Regions from separate parts of the Homo sapiens genome. Here all the other regions are linked to region 2. Evidence: promoter capture Hi-C in 16 types of primary human blood cells and fetal thymus (Javierre and others, 2016). All regions are on one chromosome and are shown on one strand. Each heading gives the region's core, a stretch centred on a gene start or on the middle of the fragment in contact. The rest is flanking DNA. Distances are from core to core; before and after follow the strand shown. Region 1 has its middle 6.1 kb from the start of ILDR2. Region 2 holds the start of CREG1 (cellular repressor of E1A stimulated genes 1). Region 3 has its middle 16 kb from the start of GPA33-AS1. Region 4 overlaps ILDR2 (immunoglobulin like domain containing receptor 2).

Evidence for each region. Contacts are between HindIII fragments. The CHiCAGO score rates a contact against its expected background, and 5 or more counts as called.
Region 1: a contact is called between a fragment that was not itself captured here and the fragment with the promoter of CREG1 in region 2, in 1 of 17 cell types (fetal thymus). The highest score is 6.4, in fetal thymus.
Region 3: a contact is called between a fragment that was not itself captured here and the fragment with the promoter of CREG1 in region 2, in 1 of 17 cell types (fetal thymus). The highest score is 6.2, in fetal thymus.
Region 4: a fragment that was not itself captured here is called in contact with the fragment with the promoter of CREG1 in region 2 in 1 of 17 cell types (total B cells); the score reaches 5.4 in total B cells.

Annotation. Positions count from the first base shown.
Region 1 is chr1:166,978,428-166,984,808 of GRCh38, forward strand. It overlaps a transcript of MAEL not described here. Among named protein-coding and RNA genes, the nearest start is that of ILDR2, 6.1 kb to the left of the region's middle. The HindIII fragment of the contact is 1,490 bases long and covers 3,228-4,717 here.
Region 2 is chr1:167,548,939-167,555,220 of GRCh38, forward strand. CREG1 (cellular repressor of E1A stimulated genes 1) reads right to left here and starts at 4,824. Exons shown (of 4, transcript NM_003851.3): 1 at 4,450-4,824. The coding sequence starts at 4,803. RefSeq lists a silencer at 4,513-4,962. The HindIII fragment of the contact is 3,087 bases long and covers 3,717-6,282 here.
Region 3 is chr1:167,034,117-167,039,998 of GRCh38, forward strand. No RefSeq gene overlaps it. Among named protein-coding and RNA genes, the nearest start is that of GPA33-AS1, 16 kb to the right of the region's middle. The HindIII fragment of the contact is 4,515 bases long and covers 1,978-5,882 here.
Region 4 is chr1:166,961,191-166,967,138 of GRCh38, forward strand. All of the region lies in intron 1 of ILDR2 (immunoglobulin like domain containing receptor 2), which reads right to left. The region is part of intron 1 of LOC124904449 (a long non-coding RNA gene); the gene reads left to right. Among named protein-coding and RNA genes, the nearest start is that of ILDR2, 11 kb to the right of the region's middle. The HindIII fragment of the contact is 6,424 bases long and covers 1-4,780 here.

The sequences.
Region 1 (6,381 bases), core at 2,723-5,222, 570 kb before region 2:
GAGGTGGAAAGAGGATGGGAAAATGGTGTTATTTTGCCATATTGGTGGTGGGTGATGGGATATGGCACCCAGAGTCCCAATGTGGTTTCTGAACTTCCAGTATCAGGATCATATTACTGTGTTTGCTTAAACACAGATTCACAGGCTCTACTAAGAATAATGAGCTCAGAAACTCCAGGTGGAGCCCATAAATCTGCAGTTTAACCACTTTCCCCAGGTGCTTCCAATGCACAGTAATGTTTAAGAAGCAATACCTATCTTTTTGTTCTCCTGAGAAGCTGTTGAGCTGATGTTTTCTAATGAGCCTTGTATCTGGTTAAGCTCCAGTTGTTCATTCATTCTGACCTAATAGGACAGGACCCCAAATAGAGAGATTGATTCATCACAGCCAAGGAAGGGGTCTGGCTCTGCAATACTTCAAACTTTCTACTGCAATGAGACAAACATGTCACAACAATGACCTGTATGGGACCAGAACAAGATTCCCAGGAAGCCACAGCTGGGATTGTATGTGGTGGGGGGACTAACAGGCTGCTTCAGCAAAGCTCTACACTAGAGAACAGAATTAGGACACAGAGAAAAGAGAAGTGAACCACCACAAGGAGACATACTGGTAGCTGGTAGCAACCACATAGTTATAAATATAATGTAGCTGAATCCTCTTTAAAACATGATTTCATTGCAGACACACAGGCATGCATGCACATGAATACTGCTTAACGTGAGTCTGTTTAAAGCACACAGATAAAATCATATTTCTACTTCTCCTCTCTGATCCTGCATTCCAAGAGGAATATACGAAGTATGACTCTGAAACAGATACCATTTTTCTCATGTAAGTTTGGTCCATCTTTTTTTTTCTCTTGCTACCTTTTGGGTTTGTTATCTTTCCCATCCTCCATACCTTCAAAACCATCCTCAATGAATTATAAGTTAAAAAAAAAACTAAATTAAACCAAGGAACTAAAAAAACTGGAACCCAGAAAACCAAGGAACTAAAAAAACTGGAGACTCTAGGCACCGTATACTGAAAACCAAAAACATTTTCAATCTTGAAGTCTTTTCATGTTGAATAAATTGTTTGATTAAGAAAATGCTTTAAAGAAAGGAAATGCAAGTATACAAATGCATTATGCCAAAACAAAACAAAACAAAATCTGAACTGGCAAGAACAGTGGACACTAGACACCACACTATCTAGAAATTTAAAAAGGTAAAAGCCTGGGAGAATGTGTTGAAAATTCCATGTACTTCCAGCAGATTTAATCCAAGAACCTGCAGTCTCAGGCTTCAAATCCAACTGCAGTGGTGCTGGGTGCTGAATTAGGTGATGCTTTGTGTGCCCCATCCTAAAGCTAGATCCTGCTCAACAGTGGGGGCAGCCCTTGCCTGAATTAGCTCTCTACCAAAGCATTCCCTAAAAAGGTCCATCCAAGGATAATGTGCAGAAAAAAAGAACATAAAAGTATATTTAGAGCTTGGTATCAAATATGAAAAAATACATTTAAAAGGGACAAAGGAAATAAATGAGTAACAATGGTTATCTCTGGGAAGATCATCATTCATTTATATTTTTTCTTTATAATTGTCTTTCTTTCTTTCTTTTAGAGACAGGGTCTGACTCTGTCACCCAGACTGGACTGCAATGGTGCCATCGTAGCTCACTGCAACCTTGAACTCCTAGGCTCAATGCTATCCTCCTGCCTCAGCTTCCCAAGTAGCTGGGACTGCAAGTGCATGCCACCATGCCCAGCTAATTTTTAATTTGTATTTTTTTTTTTAGAGACTGCATCTTGCTATGTTGCCCAGTCTGGTCTCAAACTCCTGGCCTCAAGCAATCCTCCAACCTCAGCCTCCCAAAGTGCTGGGATTACAAGTTTGAGCCACTGTGCCCAGCCTATAATTTTCTATACCCTCTAATATTTCTATAATATAGGAAAAGGTGCTGGACAAAAGCTGTGCCCATGCCAAAATTTACTCATTGTGAATTTGTCCTCCAGTCTCTAGGACATCCCTGCAGAAAGGAGAGAAGCAAGGAGAAGGAGTGACAGGTGTTTTGTCAGGCCTGTATCTTCAGCCAGATACAAAGCCCCCACATGTACACCTGCTCTCATTATGTCTCATTCGTGAGCAGTTAATCAAGTTAATTATGAGCAGTTGAGCCCTGGGAGCTTTTACTGACAGTGCAACCTATAATTTCTCTGAAAGTTACAGAGCCAGAGATGAAGGTTACTGCTCTTTTAGGAGCCCTGTCTCCAGTTTTTGCTTTTGTTTCTGTTTTTATTTCATGGTTAGCATCCTTTGGAGACCAGAAGAGCATTGACAGCCCCCCAGATGAGCAGCAGAGCAATTCTTATACTAGTGGTCAAGCAGCTTCCTACAGCCAAAAGGCTATAGGAAGAAAGGGTAACTGGCTGCCCTACAGTTTACACGATGAAGCTGCCTTGGGCTCTGGGTCTTGGTGATTTAGCCAGAAGATTGTTTCTCAGAGCTCAGCCCTACACATTCTCCTAAAGGCCTTCTTCCTGGCATAGGTCAAAGACAGAACCTGAGAGAGGGAAATGAGCCAGAACAAATATGTCATCTGATGACCTCACCCCCAGCAAATGGGCAGGGAAGAGAGCTAGAATGAGAAGGCCAGAACATGGAGCACCATGAAAAGAAACTGCTCAAGCAAGAGAAGTGGCATGTGGGCTTTAAAGACCAGGGTTAGAAAACAGCAGCCCTGACCTTTGTGTTGAAGTAGCGGGGCGAGGATCTCTCATAGAAGTGTTAATTCTGTACTCCTTCCCCAATTCTGAGTAGGTGCCTTTTACATAGAGATGATCAATGTGTACTTGTCTAATTAATTACAAACTGCCCCCAGTGTATTCATCTTACCTTTTCGTCATCTCTCCTTTTCTTTTCCCTGAATTCATTCATTTATTCCACACATTTATTGAATACTTACTATATTCTAGACACTATGCTATCTAGAAATTAAAAACGAATATGAATTCAAAGATGAATGAATCACAGCCCCTTATGTCAAATAGCTTACATTTGAGTTGTCTCCATGTGTGTAGAGAGGGAGGGAGGGAGGCAAATATGTGGTCTTTATGATGGTGTGACAGGGCCTGTATTAGGACATGTACCAAATATGGTAGGAAAATTAAGTGGGGGAGGGTCAATTAGTTATCAGTAGTCCTGGTCAGAGATATCTTCATGAAAAGGTGACCCCTGAGCTAAGCTTTAACATCATCTGGACAGAATTTCTAGGGGCAGAAAGGGAGCAGGAGGTAGTACAGATGCACAAGCAATAGGCAGAGGTGAGAATAGGAACTGCTGCCCAGAGCATAGGTTTACAAAAGGCAGAGTCAGCAATAAGGCTGGAAAGGTAGGCTGAGGTTGAACCAAGGGAAACCAGGATAGCAGATTTGGATGTAATTCCACCGGCAATGTACCATCCATGAGAATTTCTAAGTAGAACAAGATCAGACCTGTGTCCCAACCAAGTTATTCTGGCCACAGGGTGTAGGATGAATTGATGGAGACAGAGACAACAGATTGAGGTCTCTTCCATGGGAGAGCTCATTACAAGAGCTCAAGAAGTAACAAGCACCTAACAAGGGGCAGCACGAAGAGAATGCTAACATCAATTGAGAAAGACATTGCAAGGAGTCACAAGAGGTAGAATTCACATGTATATTGCAAGCAGGAGGAATCAACCAGACATCAGGTTGAGTTACTAAAGATCTGAGAGCACATTCAAACAATGTCTAGATGGTACTCAGAAATTTATCACTTAACTTTGGCAAAGCATCAGGTAATAACCTTGAACATCTAAGATAAACAGATTGGAATGAGTGTTAACTTGGGATCTCATAGATGTCAAAGTCACTCAAAGGCTGTGTGGCATGTGGAAGTCACTTCACCACTCTAAGCCTCAATTTCCTTTTCTGCAATATGTGGATAATCATGGAATCTATTTCATAGGGTTGTTGTGAAGGGGAGATAAGATAACCCTTGTGGAGTGTTTAGCAGAAAGCTGGATGTAGCTTGCAATGAATGTCACCTATTATTACTACTATTATTATTATTAGCACAGGAGGGAAGATGCACGCTGAATAATGTTGGCCTTCACTTAAACTACCATCAGGAAAAAACTCAGCCACATTTTCCAAGAACACTTGTGGTGCTCTTCAGTGGTTTGCATAACACGTACCTGGTTGAAAATCACACCTTATACTTAATTAAAAAAAAAAGTAATAGTCATCCAAATCTCCAGTGGTTTCCCCCAATTTAGACAAAAATCTAAAGTCCTTATGGAGGCCCTGTAAATCCTGTATGATCTGGCCCTACCTCCCTCTCTAATATTCTCTCTACTTTCCCCCTCACTCACTTTACTCCAGCCATGTGACTTACTTTGCTTTTCCTCAAACATACCTGATATGCTCCCACCTCAGAGCTTTTGCACTTGCTATTCTTTCTGCCTGGAATGCTCTTCTCCAGATATCTTCATGGTTTGCTTGCTCTCTTCCTTCTAGTCGTTGCTCAAATTTCATTTCTTCATATAGGGCCTTTAATAACCACCCTAAAATTGTACCCTCTAACTGTTGCTATTCCCTTATCTTACATTATTTTTCTTCATTGGACTTATTGTCCAAAAAGATATTCTGACATCTTGTTATATACATAATAGTTTATTTATTTATTACCTGGGTTTTTTTCCACTATAAGCTTTTTTCTATTCAACCTATTGTGCTTAAAATAGAGGCTGGTATTCAGTGAGCTCTTAATAAATATCTATTGAATAAATGAACCACTTGCTACTGGAATCACTCCCCTCTCTTGGTTTTCCTGCCTTTCTTCCTACTTTTTCACATGTTCTTCTCAGTCATCTTTACTGGGTCTTCCTTCTCTGGCTTCTAAACGCTAGTGTTCCTCAGGACTCCATCCTGGATCCTTTTTTTCTCTCTCTTCACTCTCTCCTTAGATGATCTCATCTAGTTCATGAATTTAAATACCATCTTTATGTGGCTTACTTCTGGATTCTTTCTCAAGCCCAGAACTCCAGACTTACATGGTCAATTGCCTACTTGACATCTCCACTTGAATATATAGTAGGCATCTCAAAATGAACATGTCCATAATAGAACTCTTGATCCACCCCCTCCACATATTTCAACCCAAACCTGCCACCCTTTAGAATTTCTGAATAGAAAAAAATCAATCTGGTTGGAAAATGGGGAAAGCTGTTCTGTTTATGTAGGACTTAAGTAAAATAGAAAAAAAATCAATTTTATCAAAGAAGGAGAGGAGCAGTGGCTCACACCTGTAATCCCAGCACTTTGAGAGGCTGAGACAGGCAGATCACTTGAGCCCAGAAGTATGAGACCAGTCTGGGCAACATGGCAAAACCCCGTCTCTACAAAAAATACAAAAATTAGCTGGGCATGGTGGCGCACACCTGTAGTCCCAGCTACTCGGGAGGCTGAGGTGGGAGGATCACTTGAGCCCATGGGACTGAGGCTGCAGTTACCTGTGATTGCACCACTGCACTCGAACCTGGTTGACAGAATGAGATCCTGTCTCAAAAAAAAAAAAAAAAAATGGACCTATGAGGAGAGGAGCAGATAACAGAAATTATTGGGAGCTTTGGACCTTGGACCCTCCTTGGCATTAGCACTGTCTCCCTCTGCCCCAAAGTCCTCCCTATCTTAGTAAAAGCACTAAGTGCCCATGGGTTACTCAAGCCAAAATCCTAGGACTCCTCCTTTTTTCTTACTCCTACAACCAATCCATTAGCTAGTTCTATTTTTCCCAAAATACAATTTGAGCCCAGCCTTTCCTTTCTGTTCGAGGTTGCCATCATCACCCACATGGACTCCTGAAGGAGCCTTCTAACTGGTCTCACCATGCCCATTCTTAATGCTTTGAACCCTTTCTCCAAATAGAAAACATGACATGTTTTTTAAAAACCCTTAAATAGAGTAGATCTCAAGTGTTCTCACCACAAAAAAGTATAAGTATGTGAAGTACTGCATATGTTAAGTCATTCGATTTAGCCATTCCACAACATATACATATTTTGAAATATGTTGTACACAATAAATATATACTATTTGTATCTGTCAATTAAAAATAAATAAATAAATATAAAATAACCCCCCTAAATGAACAACAATTGTACTTAGAGCAATACTCGAACCCCTTACAATGGTCATGGTCAAGCCGAAATCCCTGTTGATCACTCCAACCTCAGCAGGCACCATTCTTCACCTGACTAGATACAGTACAGCAACACTAACTAGTCTTCCATCTGTTCTGAAGAGACACCCAATTCTTTATCACCTGAGGCTTTTACACATACTGTTCCCTCTGTCTAGAACTCTCTTCTTT
Region 2 (6,282 bases), core at 3,574-6,073:
ACTCAGGTAAACTCTCTCCCTCCGTGAGTTTATAATCTGGTTGAAAAGGCAGACATAAACAAATGTGTATGTCCAGCATAGACCAGAGTGATAGAGGAACTGTAAGGAGCTTTATAATATATTCAAAACCAGGATAGAAGGTGGGAGGACATATTAAAGGGAGAGGAGACACTGACTGCAAAAAACACAGAACTGGGTGAGCCTAAGACTTGATGAACAGTACCAAGAAACCTGATTTGCTGGAAAGAAGGGCTTTCCTACGGGAGGAGCCTGGGGTTGGGAGTGGAGAGGGCTCCAACCTAAGTTAAGGAGTCTAGATTGTAATTTGTGGGCCAACCTTAGGCACTGTTTTCTAAGAACCACCTGCCTGGAGAGCTTGATAAAATGCTGATTTGGGTTAAAATGTTGAAACAGGCTTCACTCCCAACCCAAATAACTGCAATTTTTTTTTGTTTTTTTTTTTTGAGACGGAGTCTTGCTCTGTCACCCAGGCTGGAGTGCAGTGGTGCGATCTCAGCTCACTGCAACCTCCAACTCCCAAGTTCAAGCGATTCTCTTGCCTCAGCCTCCCGAGTAGCTGGGATTACTGGTGTGTGCCACCACGCCCAGCTGATTTTTGTATTTTTAGTAGAGACTGGGTTTCATCATGTTGGCCAAGCTGGTCTTGAACTCCTGACCTTGTGATCCACCCACCTCGGCCTCCCAAAGTGCTGGGATTACAGGCGTGAGACACCGCACCTGGCCTGCAATATTTTTTTTAAGACAGTGTCTCACTCTGTCACCCAGGCAGCCACCCAGTGCAGTGGCACAATCATGGCTCATTGTGGCCTCAACCTCCAGGGCTCATGTGATCCTCCCATCTCATCCTCCTGAGTAGCTGGAACTATAGATGTGCATCACCACACCCGGCTAATATTTTTTTATTTTTTGTAGACATGGAGTTTCACTGTGTTGCCCTGGCTGGTCTCAAAATCCTAGACTCAAGTGATCCTCCCACCTCGGCCTTCCAAAGTGTTGGGATTACAGGCATGAGCCACCAAGCTGTCCTCTATCTGCATTTTATTATTTAGAAACAGAATCAAGCTCTGTCACCCAGGCTGGAGTGCAATGGCGTGATCTCAGCTCACTGCAACCTCTGCCTCCCAGGCTCAACTGATGCTCTCAACTCAGCCTCCCAAATAGCTGGGACTACGGTCGTACACCACCATACCCAGTTAATTTTTGTATTTTTAGTAGAGGTGGGTTTCACCATATTGGCCAGGCTGGTCTCAAACTCCTGACCTCAGGTGATCCGCTCACCTCGACCTCCCAAAGTGCTGGGATTACAGGCTGGAGCCTCCGCACCCGCCTCTATATGCATTTTAAACAAACATCCCAGGTAGCTCTTACGCAGCTATAGGCAGCTGGGTATTGTTAAAGGTTTCTGGCCAGAGGGCAATGCTGTGACAGGTATTTTTGTTAATCTATTTGGGTAGGCAAGGTGGATGGGGCAGACAGGAAGACTATGTAAGAGCTGTTCTAGTACTTTTAGGCATGAGATGATAAGCTTAAGGATGAGGTGGCAGGAATGAAGAGGAAGGGGCAAGGACAGAGGTAAAGAAGGCAACAAAAAACTGTCAGGACTTGGGAACTGAGGGATTTGGGGAGGCAGTGAGAACCAACTGGGTTTACTGAGAAAACAATAATTCCACTAACAGAAATGCAGAAGATCAAAAGCAGCTTGTTTCAGGAGGAAGAAGGACTGGATTTAAACATGTTGAATTTGAAGTGGTGGCAAAGTAACGAAGCAAAAATGAACAGCAAGCAGAAATATAGAGAACTTTGAAGAGGTCAGAAATGGACACACATCTGGAAGTGAGTCCTAGTAAGGACTAGAAGAGAATGTATACAACGAGAGTGTATACAATCTTCTGAGGATCGCTGCAGGGAACAAAAGAGTAGGAAACTGACTTTGAGGGATACTTATTTTAGTGGGTCAGAGAAAAAAAACCAAGAGTGACCAGAACAGAAAGGGGCACATCACAAGAAAAGAATGCCAAAATGGAAGGGAGGCTAATAGTAAGAGGTCTTGGTGCAAATAATCAAACCCCAAGATTTCCCTTCAGACTCACTGGCTCTGCAGCCAAACACGGTCCCACTATAAGCTAACATCAGCAACACTGTCCTACAGACATTTACTATACAAAAATGCCACAAAGAAAGAGACATACAAAAGAAACAGCCCAGTGGTAAGTACGTTTGAAGCTCACAACATATCTCTAAGTTACAGAGGACAGGTATTTTACACATGAGAAATGGTCCCAAACCTAGGTCTTTTTGTTCCTTCTGAACGATTTCACCCCCTGTCAATGAGAAGAAATGCAGAGCACCCTGGAGGTCAGGAGGAGGAAAAGAAAAAAGCAGAAACTTTGACCTGCTAATTGATGGAATCAAGTCAGACAAATTCTAATGTGGCCACTTCTTTTCACTGCCATCATGGAAACCTAAAGCCCTGGGTAGGTTCCTTGCCACTGCCCTGTCTATTTCTAGAAACATGAAAGACCTGGGCTAATGTCCTACCTGACAGCCATTAGCTGACTGGTCACAGGGTAAGTCCCTGCACCTCTGAGTCTGTGTTTCCTCACTTCCTAAATGGGGACAATAATACCAGCAACTCCCTAGTCACCTCACAAATTTAAATATGATTATGTATTGGTCAATCTCCCTCCTCCCCCATTAGAATCATCAGGGAGTGGTTTGTGGGGAGGCGGGAAGGGGTGTTGTCTTAAAATAAAATGTGCTTTCAATAAAATACCTTGGCATCCCATTTTTAAAGCCTTCTTAGGTGACTATGATTTGCAGTCAAAGTTGAGCACCACTGATGGAGTGGAGTGAGTTTGTTTTGAGCAAACGCCTAAAGGTGTGGAATGGGCTGGGAATAAGAAAATGGTGAACTGGGGTGTATCTGCCTTAGCTAAAAGAGGGCACTGCTTCTGTTTTTGCTCAAAGAGTGCAGGCCCACAGTGTCACTGGATCTTCCCATTTTTCAAGAAAAGTTAGAGATTTACATTTTAAAGTAAAATCTAAATTTTAAAATGTTGGTAACAAATTCAAATTTATTAAAAACAAAACAGAACTTTGTGTAGGCCAAACCGGTCTGTGGGACATATTCAGCTGATGGGCCACCAGCCTGTGATAGGTGGTTTGAAGAAAGATGAACCTGAGATGAAACTAGGGGTTTGCCCGCTGGCTTTAAACAAGTTACTTAACCTAGGTAGGCCTCAAGTTCTTCATCTGCAGAATGGGGTATATAATACCTACTTCAAAGAATTAATAGAAGAGACAACGAATGGAAGGCAAATGGAAAAGTGATTAATCAAGCATCAGTTTCTTGCATCCTGTCTTTATCAACAATGTTGTACTTTCAGAGTTGAACTCAAATGTGAGAGCTTTGTCAAAAAGACCCTCCATCAAATCAGGCTCCATTCCTGGACTCTGTGTGTCTCCGGCCTCCCAAGCTGGGTGTCTGTGACCCCATCCCTGAGACAGCAGAGATCCATCAGAGTTGTAAGTGTGGCCCTGCACCAGAAGGTGGGCAAAGGGCGAGGAAGAGATACACCTTCAATCAGCTCTGCATCTTACTGAGGAGCCACTATGCCTGTGGAGGCCTAAAGACTGCAGTAATCATTGTAATCGTCCATGATATTGTACGTTAGCGTCTTGCTGCAGGAGGGAAAAGCTTAATTCAGGAAGGGTAAGAGAGTGAGAAACCCTGAAGTCACATATTAAAGTGCTTAAGTACCTAACAATCTCTATGCCCTGTAAAACCTTTAAGAATAGGAGCCCAGGCAGGGCGCGGTGGTTCACGCCTGTAATCCCAGCACTTTGGGAGGCTGAGATGGGTGGATCACGTGAGGTCAGGAGTTTGAGACCAGCCTGGCCAACATGGTGAAACCCCGCCTCTACTAAAAATACAAAAATTAGCCGGGTGTGGTGGCACGCACCTGTAATCCCAGCTACTCGGTAGGCTGAGGCACGAGAATCGCTTGAACCTGGGAGGCAGAGGTTGCAGTAAGCTGAGATAGCGCCACTGCACTCCAGCCTGGGCCACAAAGTGAGATTCTGTCTCAAAGGGAAAAAAAAAAAAAAAGAGAATAGGAGCACAGTTAATAGAGACACTGGGCCCCAAGACGACTGAGAACCACTCACGGATGAGAAGTCCTCGGGCTGCTGGCAGAGAATTTACCCCAGGTGCGTGGCCCAGTGGCGGAGGCTTGTGGGAAATTCCTGGTACCCAGCTGCCCAACATCTGGGACGCTGCAACGCCCACCTACCTGCCTGCGCGGCAGAGAAGCAACAGCCGTTCGAGCCACGCTCCACTTCCCGGGAAGAATTCTGGGGAGAGTGAAGGCTCGCTCTGTGGCCGCCCCGCCCACAGCCCGCCTGGGGAAGCCGCGGGCCCCAGCTCACCTGCAGGTTGCTCACGGAGAGCTGCAGCGGGCTCAGGTAGAAATAGGGCACGCCGCTGCCCGCGCCCGGGGGCCCGTCGCTGAGCGAGAGGACGTCGGCGAAGGGCCGGCCGCGCACCGCCTCCAGCGTGGAGATGGTGGCCAGAGCGCCCCAGTCGGAGACGTGCGTCACGAAGCGGGCCACGCGCGCCGCGTCCTCGCGGGGTGGTAGCGGCGGCAGCCGGGAGGCCTCGTCCCAGTCCCCGTGGTCCCGGCCGCCGCGACCCCGCGCGGGCGACACGAGCAGCGCCAACAGCGTCGACGCCAGCAGGGCGGCGAGCAGTGCGCGCGCGGACCCGCGGGATAGCCCGGCCATGGCGGTGTCTCCAGGAAGAGTCCCGGGCCCCAAGACCTGCAGGGACCCAGCCGGAGCTCGGCGCGCCCAGGCCCCGCCCCCTCCGCGAGGCGCCAATCAGAGCTAAGCACAATGCAGGGGGCGGGGTCCCTCTGCAGCTCCGCAACCTGCAGGAGAAGGGATTGGTTCATCTGCATTCCAATCGCTCTGCCTGCCCTCTTTAAGGATTGTGAATTTGTCCTAAACGGGATATTTGTTTTGTTTTGTTTGACAGGCGGAAAAAGAAAGGCTTGAAGAAATCAAGCAACTTGCCCAAATCGTACTGCTAGGAAAAGACCAGCCTCTTTACACAGGCACACACCCCCTCCTTTTAATACCTTTGGAGATGAATATCTGGCATCTGAGAGGAAATGCTGCATTTTCTACCCATGCGCCTCTTTTCTGTTGAATTTACCATCAGCTCCAAAGAACAGCGAGGGTCCCAGCGTTGTAGAAGCCCAGACTCAGGCTCGTGTACCCCATGTGTAGCTGATGCCAAACACTGACATATAGGTGCTTGGAGATAAAAGTTTATTCGATTTGGCCAAAGCGAGAAGGCGGGAGGGCAAGATCTCTCAAATCCGCCCTAACAAAAAGAAGAAGCAGAGAGTGTTTATGCGGCCAGCGAGTCAGGGAGGGGGAGTTTCAGGGAATCGAGGGAAAAAGTCTGTGTTTCTTCAGTCTCAGATAATTCCTTGAACAATCAGACTTCTGGGCGACAGAAGCTGGCCTCAAAGTACTTCAAAGGACTTATTCCTCCTGCAAACTTTTTCGTAACCCTGAAGTTATTATCTCCTCCTGCTTGATAAAGAAACAGTACATCAGCAGTTTATGATTATGTTGTAGGAACAAGGGATATTGGGCAAAAAGAGAGTTGTCAACATGTGCAAGCAAGGGCCTGATCAGAATTTTCATTATTTCAGTCACTAACAAATGCTGGGGTGCTGAAATCTCAAGGGGCCCACTTACACTAGTAGTAAAGTTAGGCAGAAGCCCGAAAGTTCAAGACCTTTAAAAAACTTTTTATTTACTTATTTTAAAATTTTTAATTTTTGTGGGTACATAGTAGGTGTATACATTTATGGGGTACATGAGATATTTTGCTACAGGCATACAATGCATAATAGTCATATCAGGGTAAATGGGGTATCCATTGCCTCAAGCATTTATCCTTTGTGTTACAAACAATCCAATTATACTTTTAGTTATTTTAAATGTACACTTAAATTATTATTGGCTATAGTCACCCTGTTGTGCTATGAAATACTAGGTCTTATTCTAACTATTTTTTGTACCCATTAACCATCCCCACTCCTCCCCTGCAAGTCCCCCCACTACCCTTCCTGGCCTCTGGTAACCATCCCTCTACTCTCTGTCTCCATGAGTTCAATTGTTTCCATTTAGGCTCCCACAAATAAGTGAGGATGTGTGAAGTTTGTCTTTCTGTGCCTGGCTTATTTC
Region 3 (5,882 bases), core at 2,985-5,484, 520 kb before region 2:
ATTTAAACAAAATACAAACTCACACTTGTACCTAAATTTCCACCAGCCCTGACTTTCTAGCCAAGTCTGGAATGCAATCTCATCTCTGCCTCTCTTAGGACACTAAACACTTTCCATTTTATAATAAGAAGTGTATGTATATTTTGTCTCCCCAACTTGAAAACAAAAAGACATCCTTTTAAATTAATATCACTATTACTATTTGTAATTGGCATTGTATGTATGCAGCTCAAATTCAAAAGTTACCAGGGATACATGGTAACCCCTAGGGATGACACCATTGTCCCCATGTACTTAATTCCTTTCCCCAGGACATCAATGTGGCCAGTTGTTGGGTATTTTTCCAAAGTATTATACACCTATAGAACTATAACAGTCAGGCATACAGTCATATTCTTTATTCCTTCTTTGAAAAAATGGAAATTGTTATGTGAGGTGGGGAGGATATCTGTTCTTCTACCCATCTTAGGTTCATGGCTGAGATCCTGTAAAAAAAACAGATTAACAAGAGAAAAGCATACACATTTATAAGTTCTATGTAACATGGGAGACTTGATAAATAAATAAAGACTTGAATAAACAATTAAACCTAAGTGTTTTTTTCATAGATTTCATAAAGAATGGATAGTCATGGAGAAATACGATAGGATGAATTGGTATGGTCTAATGGTAATGAACTGGGAGAAACTTAGCGAGGCCTGCCTGTTCATATGCTTTTTGGCATCTCTTGATCTTCAGAGATAAGGATGTTCCTTTCCTTTTCCTCCAGGTACAGGAAGGGCACCTCTCACATGAGGGTCTTATGACTTACTTCAGGGGAAGGTCAGGTTGACAAGTTATGTCACCACTCTTCCTCATTGTTGCTGTCATCTACTCCACCAGATCACTCCCACTCATTCTTTGATTATTTTAGCTCTGAGCTCTGTCACACTCTCCAACACTACTTCTGCCTTAGTTCTTGGAGAGTTCAGTCTCCATGAGATGATCTTCTCATGGATCAGATGTCTTGGTTCTTTGACATCCTCTCCTCAGGAATTTGCCCTTCACCCTGCTTCTACTGTCCACTTTCTTAGACATATACCAATATCACAATTCCACACCTTCCATTTCAACATTATACTCTCTGCTCGCCACCTCCATTTTTAGCTCATAAATTCTGGCACCCCAAGTTAAACAATTCTCCTATTTTTGAACTTGTAGGTTTAATGGGACCTACAACCCATTAATTTAATCATATTTTTTCCTGTGTCATACAATGCTTTTGTTCACATTTTGACCCTTACCATGTTCAAAGTCCACAATCAAGTGTTATGATCACTCCCTGGTATACATTCCCACTTCCCTTACTAAATAATTGTGTGGCACAATCTAAAGCCTTGCTAAACACAACTCTCTGCCCACTTCACACCAACACCTACACATCTGAATAACGCTGAAGAAAAGCACACTGCCATGCTACCTGGTCTCACTGTGAATTCATGACCACCACCCTCAATGAGGCCCTTAACACTACTGCATTTCCCTCATCCACTGCCTCTCAAGTCATGCTTTTCTTTTCCTAGTCCACTCACTCGCTAACTCTTCTTTTAGATGACTCTTTCATACCTTCTCTTCTTTCCTTAAAATGCCGACATCTCCTTCCCATCCTCACTTTTAGCTTCACACTTCACTGAGGAAGAGAACTTCTATAAGCTCTCACCACCATATGCTGTGTCCCCCACTCCATCCTCAACCCTGCCTGTTAGAATGAATAACTTGTTGGTGCTCCTCTTAAGGCCAATAACTCTCCTCTTCTCTAAATCTTATCCCAGACTCAGAGTGTTGAACCAGCAGTTCTCCCCTCTTTGGCATCATTAACGGTTCCCTCCCAATTGGATCATTCCCATCACTGTACAATTAGTTCTCTCATTAAAAATAAAAATAACCCTTGAGCCCCTCTCTGTCTACTGCTTCATTATTGGCTCCCTTTTGGAGCAAAGCTTCTCAAAAGAATTATCTTTTCTTCCTGTCCTCAATTTCTCTCCTCCCATTGTCTCTTGAACTCAATCAGGCATTTGTCCATGTCACTTAACTGTAATTACTCTTATCAAGGCCACCAGTGACTTCCACATTGCTAAATCAAATGGTCCAAGTCTCAGTCCTCAACTTAATTGACCTATAAGCAATATTTTGTAGACACAGTTGAAACAGTTTCTTCACTTGGCTTCTAGGACCACGCATCCTCTTGGTTCTCTCTTGCCTTATTGGTTGCTCCTCAGTCTTAGCTGCTTTTTCATTATCTCCCTTTCTCAAAATTTTATAGTTCCCCAGAGCTCAGCTTCCAGATATCCCAATTTCAGACTTATTGCTGCCAGAACTGTGAAAGAATAAATTTCTACTGTTTTAAGCTACACATTGATGGCAATTTATTTGGCGGCTCCAGGAAATTAATGCATACTTCAATAAAGCTGCTTAAAAAAAACAAACCTGTACTGGTTCTTCATCTTAAGTCATGTCAAAGTTCAAAGTCAAAGTCCTTTCTGTAGCCACTAAGACCCTGCACTATCTCCCTGGCCTTGCTTCCCACACACCTCTGCTCCGTCTGCTGCAGCCACACTGTCCTCCTTACTCTTCCTTAAATACTCCAAGCACACTTCTGCCTCAAGGCCTTTGCCCTAGGTGGTTCATCTGCCCAGAATACTCTTCCTGTAGATATCTGCATACCTCTCTCCTCACCTTCCTCAGGTGTTGACACAAATGTCACCTTCTCAATGAGGTCTTGACCCCTTCTTCAAAATAGCAGTTATCCACATTCTGTAGCCCCCTGGCCTGATTTATTATCCACCATTGTAGTTATAAGCATTGGACATACTTTGTTTTACTCATTCATTTTTTTTAGGATTACCTTTTCCCACCACAGGGAAAAGAAATTTGTCTTTCTCTTTGTTCACTGCTTTTTTTTTAATTTGGACAAATTTATGGCGTACATGTGAAATTTTATTACATATATATAATGCATAGTGACCAAGTCAAGGTATTTAGGGTGGCCATCACCTGAGTATAATACGTTTTTATTAACTATAGTCTCCCTACTCTGCTATCAAACATTAAATTTATTATTTCTATATAAGTGTACACTTGGGTGCTTTAGCCCACTTCTCTTCAACTTTGTCTACCCTCAACTTACCCTTCTTGTTATCTTTCTATTCTCTGTCTCCACATAATCAAATATTTCAGCTCCTACATTTAAGTGAGAATATGTGATATTTGTCTTTTTGTGTCTGGTTTATTTCACTTAAGGTAATGACCTCCAGTTCCATCAGTGTTCTGTACATGACATGATTTCATTCTTTTTTATGGCCGAATAGTACTCCATCATGTATATATACCACATTTTCCTTATCCATTCATCTGCTGATGGACACTTAGGTTGATTTCATATCTTTGCTATTGTAAATAGTGCTGCAATAAACATGTGAGTGCAGGTATCTCCTTGATATATTGATTTCTTTTCCTTTGGGTAGGTACCCAGTAGTGGGATTGCTGGGTCAATCTATTTTTAGTTTCCTGAGAAATCTCCATGCTGTTTTCCATAGTGGCTGTATTAGTTTACATTCCCACCAACAATGTGTAAGAATTCCTTTTTCTCCACATACTCAGCAGCATCCATTATTTTTTGTCATTTTAATAGTAGCCATTATAAAAAGGGGTATGGGGTATGATGATATCTCATTGTGGTTTTGATTTGCATTTCTCTGATAGTGATGTTGAACATTTTTTTCATATACCTGTTGAGCATTTGTATGCCTTATTTTAAGAAATAGCTATTCACATTCTTTGCTTGCTTTTTAATGGAGTTGTTTTTTCTGTTGAGTTGTTTGAGTTCTTTTTATATTCTGGATATTAGTACCCTGTCAGATGGGTAGTTTGCAAACATTTTCTCCCATTCAACAAGTTGTCCCTTCACTCTGTTTATTATTTATTTTGCTGGGCAAAAAGTTTTTAGTTTAATTAGGTCCCATTTGTCTATTTTTGGTTTTGTTGCCTGTGCTTTTGAGGTCTTAGTCATAAATTCTTTGCATAGACCAATGTCCTAGAGTTTACTCTAGGTTTTCTTCTAGTATTTTTATAGTTTCAGGTCTTATGTTTAAGGCTTTAATCCATTTTGAATTGATTTTTGTATATGGTGAGAGCTAGGAGTCCAGTTTCATTCTTCTGCATGTGGCTAATTTTACCAGCACAATTTATTGAAGAGAGTATCCTTTCTCCAATGTAAGTTCTTGTTGGCTTTGTAAAAGGTCAGTTGGCTGTAAATACATGGCTTTATTTCTCAGTTCTCCATTCTGTTCCATTTGTCTATGTGTCTATTTTTATACCAATACCATGCTGTTTTGGTTACTATAGCTGTTCACTGCTGTTTTTACATTGCCTGGAACAGAGTAGATAATGGATAAATATTTGTGGAAGGAAAAAAAGAAGGAAGGAAGGGAGGGAGGGAGGGAGGAAGGAAGGAAGGGAGATTCCCTATACTTTTTTTCAATCAAAATGCTGGGGCCATCTTGTTATTTGATATAGGGCTTTTGTTTTTATTGTTGTTTTTGTTGGTTTAACTTTTTATTATAGAAAGTTTCAAACATACAAAAGTAGAGAAAACATATAAAGAATCTAGTGTACCTCTCACCCTGATTAAACAGCTATCAATACAAGTATGGCAAATTTTGTTTCACCTATACCCCCACCCATTCCCTATACCTCCCACCAGATTATTTTGAAGCAAATTTCAAACATATTATTTTAATTTATAAGGATTTCAGTCTGTGCCTTCGAAAGATAAGGACTAAAAAGAACAAAAACAAACCCAAAAAATCAGGCAATCTCAGTACACACCTAAAATCCATTTATAATAATGCCTTAATATTATTCAGTAGTCAGTCTTCACATTTTCTCACTTGTCTTAGAAATGATTTTGATTTTGCTTTTTGTTTTACACTTTGATTGTTTGGATTGAGATACAAATAAGTATCATATATTCTAATTTATTGATATGTCTCTTTTATTCTGTAGGTTTCCCCTTCATTTTCTGCAAACTTAAAAAATTTTGTGATAAAACAAGCTCTGTAATTTTCCATAGTTGTACTGTAGTTTCCTATAGTCTTGATTTTGCTGACTGCATGGCTGCCCTAAAAGATCATTTAACATGTTTTCCTCTGGCCTGTATCACTTATGAACTGGTAATTACATCTAGATACTTAGTCACATTTTTCCCCCACCTCAGGCCTTTACGGGTGGTGTTTGTATTTCTAATAGGAGGGACAGTCTCTGTTGTTTTCTTTTTTGAGGGTGATGATCATTGTCCAAATCCACTACTTCAGTAGGTTTTGAAACATAACGATACTATAATTCTATCCCATTCTCTTTTTCTTTTTCTTTTCAGCGGAAATACTTTTGCAAAGAGAAGCCCCTCTGCCAACACACCATATCAAATATCTGGTTTTTCTAATCATTTAAGAAAGAGAGAACAAATGTTTTATTTACCTATTTTTAAATTAATAATGTGGGTTATTCCTAGCATCTTCCAAAGGGCACCAGTGAGTTGTTGTGGTTATTTTAGTATCATTATAAAAATGGATATGTGGTTTTAAAGTTTTTACTGTAATAATTATCTTTATTATCATTGCTTAAGTCATCCTGTCTTTTGGCCAGTGGAAACTTATTTAGATTGACATCTGAGTCCTAGTGACACAATTCTAATAATCTTTGATAGCTTCCTTATTCCTTTATATTTTTCCTTTTTAATAGCCATTCTAACTGGGGTACGATGATAACTCATTGTGGTTTTGATCTATACTTCTCTGATTGTTAGTGATGTTGGACATTTTCTTCATATACCTGTTGGCTGTTTG
Region 4 (5,948 bases), core at 319-2,818, 590 kb before region 2:
ACAGACCATTTCATCACCCAGGTGGGTGCTCTACAAAAGTGTAGTGAGATTTATTTATTTTTTTAGAGAGGAAGTTTGGGGTTTTGTTCATTAGATAATTACTAAGAATAGCCTCCTTCCAAGCTCTGTTCTCTGTTAATGAGATTAGCCACTTGAGCAAGCCACTGGACTCTCTTAATCAATTATTAATAGAGGTTGGTCAATTCTCAGCTTCTATGACATAAACATAAACTCATGCTCCAAAAAAATAAAAATAAAAAATACATTCTCAGAAACATCTGCCTTTTTATAGCATGATACTTAAAGGCATGGATTTTGCAGTCAGTCCTAAGTAAGAATCCAGGTTCTACATGACCTCAAGCAAACTACTCAACTCTGATGAGTTTCAGTTTCCTCGCTGGCAAAACCAGAATAATAGTAACTACCTTATGGAGTTGTTTGAGGGTTAAGTAAGATTGTATCCTAAGTATTTAGAATAATACCTGGTATACAGTGAGCATTCAATAAATGTAGTTGCTAATGTTGCTGAGGCTATCAAGAGCAGTCTGATGACTTCTGTGAAGCTACAAACCTAGAGCTACGCAAGTACAGAGATCAAGGTGTCAGATGCCGAGTGTGTACAGGGCAAAAACTGCACAAGAATGCTAGAATACATCATTAGGAGTTCAATAGTGACAGTGCCTGGGTATGCTCCTCACTGCACATCACTTATGCACCTCCTGGAACTCAGAAGTAGAGAGTAACCCTGCACGTGTATGCACACATGCATACACATGTATACATGTACAGGCACAATGGGACTCTAAGCTAAAGGTAGATCTGGAGAAGACAGGACTAGAATTCCAAGTAAATGTGAGTTTATTGGATCTTTGAGAACCACAGAGTGAAGTGTTGGAGATAAAAGTAAAAATGCCAATCCCTGCTTCCACACTACAGGTTTCAAACTGTTAGATGAATGCCATCCAGTCCCCAAACTGCCCTGACCAAGTTTATCGGGACCCCCATTCCCACTGGAGGGTAGGGTCTAGAATTGCTCTTCTGGCCCTAACCCTGGATCCCTGGTGTCTAGGTGTCCTATACAACTGGGCAGCATCTCTTTCTCTCAACCTGTGTTTACCTTATTTAGAGACTGTTTTTCCACCTTGGTATCCTGATTTGCAATCCAGTTGCTCCACTGGGTCTGAGAACCCTTGCCCTGAACTCTGGCCTGCTTGTCTGGGGCCCTAATACCAGCCCCTTCTCCTGAGGGTTGGGTATTGTTTCCTATACCTTCATGCATGGCTGATCCAAATCTGAAACTGTGATGCTGCCATCCATCCAACTTCAAAAAATACCTCTCATGGGACCCACATAGATCAGGCCCCTCAGAACTGGTAGCTAATTTGGGTGGGGACTAGGATTGCCAGTCTCCTGTGGACACTGAAGTTTGACCTGGAGATACCCTCTCTCTGGCTCCCATTCCCGAGAGGTCTGCCCTGGGAGTAGGGGAGTATCCTGAGCTGGGGTCCTACCTCTTAGAGTTTTGTTTTCGTTTTTCAATTTTCCTACTTGTCAGATGCCAAAAACCAGGTACCAAGAACAAGTACTTCTTATGCTGGAGTCTATACAGGCTAATAAGAATATGTAACTATACATTTGAATTCCAGATAAATTAAACATTTTCAGCCTCTTTGTAGTGATAAGCTGTGCATTTGATCTAAGAAATCTGATTTACTCCCAAGGCTCCAACTACCAGTTATGTCTCACACCCCCAACTCCCTTAAGCCTCATCTGCATATTTAACAAACACTTTAAATTAAACATGTCTAAACCTCATTCATCGTCTCCTCTTTTCCCACCCTAGCTCTTTTTTTATAAACTCATCCTTTCTCTATCCCTTGCTCTTTTGCCAAAATACCACTTAATCTATTGCCCTAGATAGAAATCTTAGTTTTGATAATTTCCTCTCTGTCCCTGACCACATTCAGTTGGTCGCTAAGTCTAAATATCTCTCAACTTTGATCTTTCTCTATTCCCACTGTCACTCCCTTAAATCAAGTTTCTATTTCTGCTACTAGAAAATAGCTGTAAAATGCTTACTGTGTGTCAGGGATTGTGCTAAGCACTTTTCATGTAGTATCCTAATGAATTCTCTCAAAATCCTATAAAGTAGGCATTGTTATTACACCTGTTTTATAGACGAAGAGACTGATGCTCAGATAATGTATGTATGTATGTATCTTGCCTAACATTTCAAGGTTAGCAGGTGACAGTTTAGGTTTGAACCTAGACTGACTGGCTCCAAAGATCTTCACCATCATTTCACACAGGTCCTCACCACCACCTGGGTTTGAGAATAGCCAACTAAATGGTCTTCCTACTTCCAACCCAATCCACTCTCCATATTTTTCTAGAATACCGTTTTTAAAACACACATCAATCATGTCAGTTCCTGCTTTAAGGCCTCCATCGATTCCCCATTCCCTCCAGGACAAAATTGAAATACCCCAACATGGCATATAAAACTTTCTCCTTGACATGGCCCCCAGTATGCTCCAGCCATACTGAAATATTTCCAACCCTTTGACTATAAGTATGTTATCCCCTCCTCCTGGGCAAATATCAGGCCATGTAACTGAAGGAGTTCCTGGGAGGCAGACATAGAGAAGCACTGAAAAAGGGTCTTGCCCACACGTAAACAAGCACACGCTGGTACAACAGGAAGGCTGGGCCTCCAAGTCCAGGCACTGGTAACACCATATGGGACTTGAGTTTCAAACTCCTATAAAGAAATTTACAGAGGTGCAGAAAGAACCTGTGCTTCACCCTATAAACTAAAGCAGGTATTCTGGAAAACTAGAGAGAGGCACCTTAGGAGAGAGAGCAAGAGAGGAAAAGAAGTGAAGCAAGGTAAAGAATTATACTGGAGAGAGTATACCTGTAAAAATTAGACCTTCTAAATCTAAAAATAAAAAAAAAAAAAAATTTAAGAATTCCTCACTAAAAGAAGCACTAGAATTGAAGACCACAGGTGGTTTTCTGCTTTGCAGAGGAGGGAGTCATCATTCTTAGACCACCAGACTATTCTTTTAACTGTTTTGGTGCCCTGACCTCCAGGAAAACCACCCTTGACTATCTAATTTTAATTCGACCAAAAATGTATTTTGAAACACTACGCTAAGTTCTGGCAAAACAGATTTAAAAGACCAGTCCCTCATCTTGAGAAATTCAATATAAAGTTCATTTCTAACTATAAGGTCCCTGAGGGCAGGGGCCAGGATTTGGTTGACTTTGTATCCCTAGTATACAGCAAAGGCAAAGAATATAGGTGAAGCTAAAAAATGTGGAATGAATTAATGAATGAATGAAAACCGAACCTGTGAGTCTGAGGGGCCTTTCTTAGCAGGTGGTCCCCAGCTCAGAGAATGGATTCTGGCCAATAACTAGGAAACCTGCCTAAAGGTAGAGTGAAGAGTGACAGCTCTTCTCCCCCATCTCAGCCCCCATCTCAGCTAATCTCCAGGTGTAGGTACCTCGTCACCAGTCACCAGGCTAGGGAAGATCAGCTTCAAGTGCAGACAATGTCTCGCTGCATGTGCAAAAAAAGGTCCTGCCCCAATTCTCATGTAAAGAAAAAGATTCTATATATGATGAACTGTGTTCTTGCAAGAATAACAAACACAGACTCTAAGGCAATGCTATTCTTATTTTTAGCACTTTCATTTTTTTCAAAGCAAGTTCCTTTCCCCCACTAGTTGTAAGCTATTCCTGCCAGCATCTTTGGGAGGCAGATCTATAAGCATAGCCCCATTTTAGAGAAACAAAGATTGCTGCTAAAGGTCATGGAAAATTATCATCATTAGAGACAGGCATCTTTAGAAATATTGTATAATGCTCACCCACCCCTTAACTCTTTGAGTACCAAAAGCAGGATTTGACCTCAGAATTGCCCATTCCTCAGCATACCTTGGCCTTCAGATTCTTTCTTCATTCAGTATAACAATATAGTTTGAGTATCCCTTATCTGAAATGCTTGGGACCAGTAGTGTTTCAGATTTCAGATTTTTTTGGATTTTGCAATATTTGCATACATATGAAGAGGTATCTTGGGGATGGGACCCAAATCTAAACAGAAAATTCATTTATGTTTCATATATACTTTATACACATAGCCTGAGGGTAATTTTATATAATATTTTTAATAATTTTGTATATGAAACAAAGTTTGTGTACATTGAACAATCAGAAAGCAAATATATCAGGTACAGAATTTTCCACTTTTGGCATTATGTAGGCACCCGTAAAGTTTCATATTTTGGAGCATTTTGGATTTCAAATTTTCAGATTAGCAATGCCCAACCTGTACAAATCTTTCTTTGCCTGCCTTCAAGTTAGGTTTTGTTTTTTTTTTTGTTTTTTTTTTGACAGGGTCTCTCTCTGTCACCCAGGCTGGAGTGCAGTGGCACCACCTTGGCTCACTGCAACCTCTGTCTCCTGGGTTCAAGTGTTTCTCCTGCATCAGCCTCCCACGTAGCTGGGACTACAGGTGCGTGCCACCATGCCCAGCTAATTTTTTTTTTTTTTTAGTAGAGGTGGGGTTTCACCATGTTGGCCAAGCTGGTCAACTTAGGTATTCTTTAAGACATTCATCTTTTGTTTTTACAGTTTTAACATGTTGTCCCAATTTCCTAAGATACTTTTTAGGAACAACCAATGGGCAGGTTTTTTAAGTGTAGGAGATGAATAGGGAGATGAGTAAACATCTCCTCTGAGTTTGGTCATAATTCAGACAAGGAAAGAAAGCTTGTTCAGCCCTTAGTAGCATTGTCGGGATGAGAATAAAACATTTTGGGAAATATTTAAAGACAAGGCTAAAAGTATAAAGACAAAGAAGATGCAGCTTGAATCTTTTTTTCTTCTCGAAATAGGAACTATTCATCGCCTTGATAAACTTGTGTTAAAAAAAAACCTAAAAAACTAAAATAAAAAGGCTTTACCAAGAATAGTAGACATTGCCTTGGAATCTGCCTATTTTCTGAGCCTCATTCTCCAGCTTTGCCAATGATTCTGTGAGTTAATCAACTTCTTTCCAATAAAGTCCTTTCCTGCTTAATTTGGCCAGAATCAGTTTCTTGTTGTTACCATGATATACCTGATTGCTCAATCCACTTTAGGATTAGGGTAACCAGATGTACCATCTTGAAATTTTTAAAAACATGATAGTGTTTTCGTATGTTTTCCCCCCAAGAGTCTCAAAAGCAGCAATATGTCACTCTTTTCCAAAGAGCCATGGTAAATACCAGTGCTGCCACTGCCCAGGTGGATTTTTGCTCATGGCATAGTTATTATTTGCTGCCAATAACTCTGGTGTTTGTTTACACAAATCTTGCTATTCATCAAGCATATTTTCTCTGTGTCCAAGTGTGCCATCCTTTCTTGTACTCTGCCATCACTGCGTAGGTAAAAGCTAGAAACATTTTCTTTCTGTCTCATTTGCCTCATCTTCCACAGATCTGAAATGAGTTCATAGGTGTTGTCTAGCTGGCTTACACGCAGTTCCAATGGGACAAAGCAGTGCTAAAAGAGGTCAGTCTTTACCCTGCAATGTGGAGGTACTTTGAAAACTGTCTTGGTTTCCAAGTGGGTCAGACTTCTGGGATGGAACAGCCACTTAGACAGGAAAAAACTCCTCTAACAAAGCTCTTATCAGCCTTTACCAACTTGTTATCTGTATCTCCTGTCTAGATCTCTTTCCTAAGCTCCAGAATCAAATATACAACTTCACTGTCTATCAGGATGTTATGCAAGCACCTCAAACTCATCCATCTGTAGATGGAGACACTAACCATCTCCTTCTTCCTTTCAGTAATAGAAATTCCCAGGTTTAATTTGGCCAGCCAAGTAGTATATATTTCCTAGCCTCTCTTTTAGCTAAGTGTGGCCATGTGACTAGGCTCAGGACAAAGGTA